2 separate regions of the Homo sapiens genome follow, and region 2 is linked to region 1. Evidence: promoter capture Hi-C in human tissues and cell types (Jung and others, 2019). All regions are on one chromosome and are shown on one strand. The core of a region is centred on a gene start or on the middle of the fragment in contact, and the rest is flanking DNA. Distances in the headings are between cores, read along the strand shown. Region 1 holds the start of HSPB3 (heat shock protein family B (small) member 3). Region 2 overlaps LINC01033 (long intergenic non-protein coding RNA 1033).

The links. The method cuts DNA at HindIII sites, captures the fragments that hold promoters and counts their contacts. A contact is called where the count stands out against the background at its distance.
Region 2: a contact is called between a fragment that was not itself captured here and the fragment with the promoter of HSPB3 in region 1, in 1 of the 25 tissues and cell types used here (hippocampus).

What each region holds. Positions count from the first base shown.
Region 1 is chr5:54,452,811-54,457,170 of GRCh38, forward strand. HSPB3 (heat shock protein family B (small) member 3) reads left to right here and starts at 2,889. Exons shown (of 1, transcript NM_006308.3): 1 at 2,889-3,567. The coding sequence starts at 2,980. The coding sequence ends at 3,432. The HindIII fragment of the contact is 2,000 bases long and covers 1,587-3,586 here.
Region 2 is chr5:54,322,934-54,327,269 of GRCh38, forward strand. The region is part of intron 1 of LINC01033 (long intergenic non-protein coding RNA 1033); the gene reads left to right. Among named protein-coding and RNA genes, the nearest start is that of LINC01033, 4.2 kb to the left of the region's middle. RefSeq lists an enhancer at 2,838-2,982 and a cis regulatory region at 2,902-2,919. The HindIII fragment of the contact is 4,465 bases long and covers 1-4,064 here.

The DNA.
Region 1 (4,360 bases), core at 1,639-4,138:
CTGAGGTCAGGAGTTCAAGACCAGCCTGGCCAACATTGTGAAACCTCGTCTCTACTAAAACTACAAAAATTAGCTGGGCATGGTGGCGGGTGCCTATAATCCCAGCTACTTGGGAGGCTGAGGCAGGAGAATCGCTTGAACCTTGGAGGTTGAGGTTGCGGTGAGCTGAGATGGTGCCACTGCACTCCAGCCTGGTCCACAGAGCGAGACTCCATCTCAAAAAAAAAAAAAAGTACCACTTTGGGGGTGGTGTTGATAATGGGGGAGGCTGTACATGTGTAGGGGTAGGAGGCATGTAGGAAATGTCTGTAGCTTTCCCTCAGTTTTGCTGTAAATCTTACTAGTGTTTGAATGCCAAATCCTTAAGATCATATCTATTTCTTGTCACTGGCAGTGAGTTCTGTTCTTGACTTTCCACTAAGAGCAGTACTGATGACAACATCCCGCAGTATTTTATGAGCCGGAGAACATTAACATATCTAAAAGAGTACATTTTCCTCTGGAGGGCCACCAGCCTGTAAACTGCAGGTCAAAAAGCTGAGTGTGAACAGCATTGTTAGGACATGTTTCTAAGTGTATGCCAATATGTCCACAGAGGTTTTTTTAGACTTATAAAGCGAGCTAAAGAAGACTTTTGTTCCATTTTCTGATTTTTAATTTATATAGACATTTTTTCATTTGAAGAAAGTGCATATATTTTTAAAGGAAAGGTACTCTTAAGTCTATCCATTTAAGAAAATATTAATCTCCATGGAGAAGAAATTTTCCATATTTTAAAATTTATTGTGTGTAGGTATATTCCATATACACTCTATAAATAAAAAGCACACTGGCTGGGCGCAGTGGCTCATATCTATAATCCCAATGCTTTGGGAGGCTGAGGCGGGCAGATCACCTGAGGTCAGGAGTTTGAGACCAGCCTGGCCAACATTGTGAAACCCTGTCTCTACTAAAGATACAAAAATTATCTGGGTGTGATGGCAGACGCCTATAGTCCCAGCTACTCAGGAGGCTGAGGCAGGAGAATCACTTGAACCTAGGAGGTGGAGGTTGCAGTGAGCCAAGATGGCACTACTGCACTCCAGCCTGGGCAACAGAGCGACACTCCATCTCAAAAAAATAAATAAATAAATAAAATAAAAAGCACACACTATCACAAAGAAGATGGTGGCAAAAATAATAATAAAAATAGTAAGTAAATAAATAGCACAGAAGTATTTACAGTAAAAAATTAGGTCTCCTTCCAGCCCCCACCTGCCAATCACTCTCAGGAGGCACCCACTGTCTTCAGCTACAAAGCTTTCAGAGAGATTTTATTAATATAAGCAAATACATACTTTTTAAAAAAGTATAAATAAGGCCTGGTGCAGTGGCTCACGTCTGTAATTCCAGCACTTTGGGAGGATGAGGTGGAAGGATCTCTTCAGGCCAGGAGTTAGAGACCAGCCTGGGCAACATAACAAGACCCCCATCTCTAAAAAAACAATCAAAAAAACTAACTGGGCATGGTGGCATGGTTCTATAGTCCCAGCTACTCAGGAAGCTGAGAGTGAGGGATTTCTTGATTCCAGGACTTCGAGGCTGTCACCCACTCCAGCTTGGGTGACAGAGCAAGACTCTGTCTCAAAAAAAAAAAAAGTATAAACACTAGCATATCATATATTGCCCTGGACTTTTCTTTTTGATTTAACATATCTTGGAGATTCTTCCATAGCTGTGGATAAGGAGTTGCCTCATTCTTTTTCAGGGTAAGTTTAGTATAAAGGGTGATATAGTGGGGAAATTATATTTAATTTATTTTTGCCAACTCAGTAGCAGAGCTGTGACAAGATTAATCCTTAGATTTTTGGAGGTTCATATCAAATCATTCAAAGCTTTGACATTTTTCTCTTCTTTGTGGCTCTATTTTCATCACTAAAATTCCCCATCCTATGCCCCTGCAGCCCCCATCTGACGTTTGTCACTTCTCTAGCTTAGTCATCTGATCTAATTTTGATGAGTCAGATGTAAATAAACCCAGATAATGTGTCTTTTAGCCCAAAAGACTAAAAGATAAAATAAAAGGAAATGCATAGGACACAGGGCAGTTTGTTGAATGGCTGAGATTTGAATATGTGTGTATTAATTCTTTCTGAATTACAGCTAGATTCTGCCCTCCCCAGCTTTGTATCTGGAGACGAGGGAAAATGTGATCCCAGTTCATATTATGAGTGAACATCTCTGACTGTTCTAAGAAGTCCTATTCCCTTAGATTACTGAAGTTCACAGGGAGAAAGCACCCACCCAGATATTTTTGGTTTTTGTTTGTTTGTTTGTTTGTTGAGATGGAGTCTCACTCTATTGCCCAGGCTAGAGTGCAACGGTATGGTCTTGGCTCGCTGAAACCTTTGCCTCCTGGTTCAAGCGATTCTCCTACCTCAACCTCCCAAGTAGCTAAGATTTCAGACATAAGCCACCATGCCCAGCTAATTTTTGTGTTTTTAGTACAGACAGGGTTTCACCACATTGTTCAGGCTGGGCTTGAACTCCTGACCTCAGGCGATCCACCCGCCTCAGCCTCCCGAAGTGCTGGGATTACAGGCATGAGCCACCGCACCTGGCCTCACCCAGATATTTTTCAAATACCATTTTCGATTCCCACTCTCTTTCTTGAAGTAAGCAAGGCAGACACATTTGCCAAGGATAACTGAGAATGTAAGGGCAATCCATGACTGGGCAGCTTGTGCAGGCTGTGTGCTAAATGCACTGGGAAACATGCCCTATAAATAGCCGTTCATTGTCAGCATGTGTGAAAAGACAAGAGAGCATTCCGTGCTATGATTCAGGCCTAATTAAGTGATTGCGTCTGGGCACGGCTATAAACCACTAGCTGCTTCAACTGGTAATCCAGTCAGTAGGCAACTGCAGGGGCTCGCCACTGACTGAAGGCAGTGGAAGGTTGGCAGAAGGAGGCTGTTCAAGGCTGTTTTTGCCTTCACTATGGCAAAAATCATTTTGAGGCACCTCATAGAGATTCCAGTGCGTTACCAGGAAGAGTTTGAAGCTCGAGGTCTAGAAGACTGCAGGCTGGATCATGCTTTATATGCACTGCCTGGGCCAACCATCGTGGACCTGAGGAAAACCAGGGCAGCGCAGTCTCCTCCAGTGGACTCAGCGGCAGAGACGCCACCCCGAGAAGGCAAATCCCACTTTCAGATCCTGCTGGACGTGGTCCAGTTCCTCCCTGAAGACATCATCATTCAGACCTTCGAAGGCTGGCTGCTGATAAAAGCACAACACGGAACCAGAATGGATGAGCACGGTTTTATCTCAAGAAGCTTCACCCGACAGTACAAACTACCAGATGGTGTGGAAATCAAAGATTTGTCTGCAGTCCTCTGTCATGATGGAATTTTGGTGGTGGAAGTAAAGGATCCAGTTGGGACTAAGTGACATCGTATCGGTTCCTGTTCAGATGACATGGGGAAGATGATGGTTCAGCCACTGGTACTACGAGAATGTTTGTATTACCCACATTTGAAATGATTTGCTATGATTTTTATGAAGATTAAAAATATATACACAGTTCCTGGTATGTTGAGGTTGTCTTTATTATTCTTACTCAGAAAGGAAAATTTGTAAATATGTTTGTGTGGCTCAAACTGATACTATTCTTACAACTGAAACATTGAAAATACAGAAGGCTGTATTTGGATATTAGAGAGGACTCCGAATTGTTTCTTATTATTCCAACAATGCCAGCTGCATTTGTAATCACTGATGGCAAAAGAGCTATACCCATTTAAGGAATTCCTATCCATTTTATGAAAATCTTTTATTTTGCCAAAAAGAGTTGTGATTCCCTTCACTCGATAAGCTTTTCTTTTTAATGTATTTTAATTAAAATGAGGTTTTATAAATATGGAGTGCAAAAATTAAAATACAGTATTTGGAAATTGGGTCTGATATCTATTTATGATTTAGTATAGTTGTTACTGCCTTAAAGGTCAATGGGAATTTTCAGATATAAATCTTATTTTTAAAAAGTTCAAATATGTACCTCATTCATCTTTTTAAAGATATACTGAATCCTATCTGAAGTGTTTTGACTTTTTAAAGATAGTATAAGTTCTATGGACACGTACAAAATGTTCATGAGATATGTATTTACATATCCTCTTGTAAATTAATATGAAGCTTAAGGACACCACTTTTAAAAGTTTGATTGCTGAATTCAGTGAGTTTTAATCTGTGCTTTTTAGATGCTCCATAAACTTAGATGGCAAAATGTAACACATCTGCTATCTCTGCATAATCCTTAGCTTTAAATAGCCTGGCAGCCAATGGAAGTTCAACACCTGAGCTTACACTGCGTGTCTGA
Region 2 (4,336 bases), core at 582-3,081, 130 kb before region 1:
AATCATTAAATTTCTCAAACGTTTCAACAGGCTGCTTGGTTCATTTGCCCACTTCCATTGATATAAACCATGCCTGCCCTCCAGGATGGTTGTATGGTAGCATTGTAATGTACAAGCTTTAGTTGTATGTTACGTAGTGGACACAACACTATGTCTCCATGTGACAGATGGCAGTGCACATAAATGGAGAATCTCTGCACTTCTCTTTGGTAGCAGAAATATCTATAGAGATCGTACAACTAGGTAGAGCTCTCAGTTCCTATAAGTAAAATAACAGATAAATTATTATATAAAATAGCTGTGTTGGAAGAAATACTTTGAATCTCAAACTCCTAATCACTTATATTCATAAATGTTCTCCATTCAACATATTACTTTGATAATGTCTAGACTACTAAACTAAAAGTTCCAGACCACATACAAAGTACAAAGTATCCAGATGAAAGTGATGCTTTGACTGAATTACCAAGGAAAAATATCAGCTTTTGTCTTATGCCAGTAATCCTCACTGGTCCTCAACTTTTAGGATATATTTAGAAGGAGAAAAATAAAAATAAAAAATGTTGCCTGGTCCATACTAGTACAGAATGTTATTTACTAATATTAAGTGGGAATTCAGTTTACACCCTTTAAAAAGTATTATATCTCAGATGCCAAACTCTTCAGTAAGAAGGCCGGAAGCTCAGATAACTCAGCCATGTCATAGCAAGATTAACAATTTTGTTTTGTCAGAGAATAAACAATCAGTTTTTACCACAAAGGGACACTTCAATGAGTTATTTATGGTAAGAAAAGGAAATTATAGCAATATTAAGACCATGTGCAGCTCCTATTCAAAATTAAGAAACTCACTATTGCATTGTTTATCTCAGCCTCAACATTCTTATGAGAAGTAATTAACAGTCGTTAGAGGTGTGGTTATTATGCCTGGTTAGGGAAGCAGTGGGGCTCTATTTGCTCAAACCTCTCAGGAAAAGGCTACAATTACTGTGTGGATACAGGAATATCACAGTTATGAGTGGTATTGTTCATAGGGCATTTCACAAGACAAAGCAATAATAAAATACTTAGTTCTTAGGATATCAAAGGTTATTTTGTGAAAATGATTTGACATACCACAATCCTAAAACTTGACAAACTACTCTCAAAATGTTTTAAGAATTATGTGAACCCAGAAACAAATGTGAAAACTGTTTTCACACAGGAAAGCCTCCACTGAGGATTATGAATCTTATGAAAGACAAATGCCCTATTTTGAGTACATGGTGATATAGTTGGTCACCTTCAGGTATGCTTATTTATGTTTTGCAGGATTGCAGTAATGGTTAAATAGTAGACCAAATTAGCATGTCTGGGTCTCCTCAAGTCTTATGTTTCCTTCAGTGGTCCCATATGAGTTACTAAAATTTCCAGTTTTATGTAGAATGCAGCATAGGTTGACCATAAACACAACTTTGTATCATTGTCCAAAGTTGTAAAACAGAGATTGTCACTGCAGGGTCATGCAACAGAAAGGGAGGAAATGCTGTTTTGTACCATATCAAAAATGATAAGCTACATTTTCCGAAGGACTAAAATATCCCTCTTATTGAGAACAGAAAGAAGGGCAAGAATGACTTGTTTAAAACCTGCAAGTTGATAAGGAGCGATGTCCCAGCCTTTACAACATCATGGATGTAAACCTTGAGAAAGGAACAGGAAGCTTGTTTACAAATGAACAAATTCCTGCTTTTGTAAGAGAAAATTCAAGCTGTGGCACATTTTTTAAATTAATAGATGTTTTTAATAAATTGGTACCTAGGAGGGATTCATCATGTTCACTGTGCTTGACAAGTACAAAATTAAGCGAGTTAAATCAGCTCCAAAGAAAAAAAGGCTGTGTAGGCAACCCATCAAATGACTGAAAGCTGGGGTAGTCCCTTCAGTGGGCGAACTGCTTATGCTACCTGAATAGACTTTGCTCAGAAAAGACTTCTATTGAAAGAACCACAGGTGTGAAGTTAATATGCGTTTGTAACAGTTTTCAATCAAATGCCTCATCAAATAGGGTAGTTTAACACTTGACGCATAAATTTGCATCAGAATCATAGCATCAACTAACTGGGAGAAAATGGCAGTTAACTGTGAAGCTGTCCTGTGTAATAGGTGCTCTGCAATGCAATAGGCTCACAAAAATCCTGCCCCCGTTCCTAGTGGGATGCAGGATTACATGGCAATTAACAATGTGAATTCTGGAGATGAATTCCACGCAAGTTCCAACTCACATCCCACCTTTTATTTGGGAAAGTTATTTAAATTTTCGATGCCTGAATTTCCTTACCTGGAAAGTGCTGATAATAGAAACCAACTCCACACAAATTGTTTGGATTAAACTATTTAATACATGCAAAGCTATAAACCACTTAGAATGGCACCTGGCATATAGTAAGCCCTCAAAATATTTTTTTTCTTACCCATGATTGTCAAGGATTACCTGGATCCTAGCAGAAGGGAAATTAAGGGCTAGATTGTGCAAGAAAAGTACTACTGGGGCCTATAATTCAAACCCTGGAAAAGAGGTAGGACATAGAAGGACATGAGATAAAGAACGTGGTTTATTTAGGGGAGGGGATGGTAAATTCTAAGGGACTGAAAAAGGCAGAATTAAGCATGATCTTTTATTAAACAGCCTGACTGGAGTGGCAAAATCAGGTTGTGAGATGTGTCCGGTTGATGGAGGGCTTGAATGTTATGGTTGAGGAGATCAGGCTCTGACAGGAAGCCACTATAGTCTCTCCAGGTAATGTTCTAAAAATAGTACTAATTCCTAGAAAACAAGATAGAATGTAGGGGAAGAGCCTAGAAGCAGATATTTCAGTTAAAAGGCATTGAGGCTTATCTAAGAATGCACAGGGTGAGGTTCTGGACCAGGGTGATAAGCATGACTGGAGGAGGAAAGCAACTGCCAAAGAAAAAATAGGAAGCCTTGAAATAATTAGATACGGGGATCAAAAGAGAGAGGAGGCAAAGATGTCTCTAGGATCTTGAGGTTGCCTCTACTGGCTAACATTTTACTTAAATGAGATAAGGCAGTAGTTGTTAGACAGTAGAAAATGAAGGGACTTTAGGAGCTGGCCTCACCCTTTGTATTTGAAGGTTTCCAAACCATCATTTGTGAAAGCGAGAGTGAGAAAGAAGGGGTCAAGACTCCTGAGTATTACAAGGGCATTTCCTGGGTAGCAGAGCTCCACCTAGTACAGCTGTTTGTGATTAGAACCACCTGAAGGATTAACAGCTCAAAAGGACTGACACTAAAGCAGAACAAGAGCTGCAAATAAGCCTTCTGGGGTCAGAATATAAAACGTTGAAGTCGTTTAACAGCTCTTTCATTAGTGTGGATTTTGTTGCCTATTTTACCTTAATGATTGGATTGAGTATCATGTTATATAATATTTCACAAGCAGTAATTCAATGTTCAAGTACTTTGAAGTATTTAGAAGTACTGCCTATTCTCCTCAATACTGGAAAGATCCTCATAGATTAGGAAAAGCCCGAACTAAGCAACCTAAATTCTCTTCCCACTAACCTGCTTAACTGTTCTAGGTTCCAATTTATTTAAAGAAGTGAGAGTTGGATGTTTTACCAATGTGGGATTTTCAGCACCTTGTCTTCCTTGGCTGAGGGGAGCCTCTGAAGGGATACTTGTTATTGGTCCTGCAAATGAACTGCTCCAGCTAGGTACAGGCTAAAAAAATGATTTACTCTCCTATGTTCTCCCTCTGATTCCCATGGCACAGTAGGAATTGCTCTAGGTCCCTTGTTCCTGATGAGCCCTAAATGCCTTTTGTCCCACATGTTGCTGACATTCTCAGTTTGTTCTCTTCCACACTCCGTTTCTCCATTCTCTGACCCACCCTACTAACCGCATTCCCCAGGCTCCCTTGCCAATGGGAAACATCAGCTGGAGACGAGAAGGTGGGAGTTGAAGAGGGGCTGGAGTATTCACGCCTGGCACACCTGTCCTGCTATGGCATAGTGTGGCAATAGCCGCATCCCTCTACATCCACAGCCCTTGCTGGCGGCCCCTTTCATGGCTCTAGCTCTCAGTAGACTGTGGTAACATTGGTTCTGTCCTTCGTGTCTTCATGCATGGAGGTGATAAGGGCTCCCTCTGGGGCTAGTTCTTGGTGCTTCACCATCCCTTGTTGATTCCCAGACCCCTGTTCACACCAATGTAAATAGTCCCTTTATTAAATTCTCTTCCAAAACCCCAGCTAATGGTCTTCTCTTTCCTACCAAAACCCATTCTTTGAGGAGTGTACAGTGATGAAGGCAAGCTGGTATAATCAGATGTCCC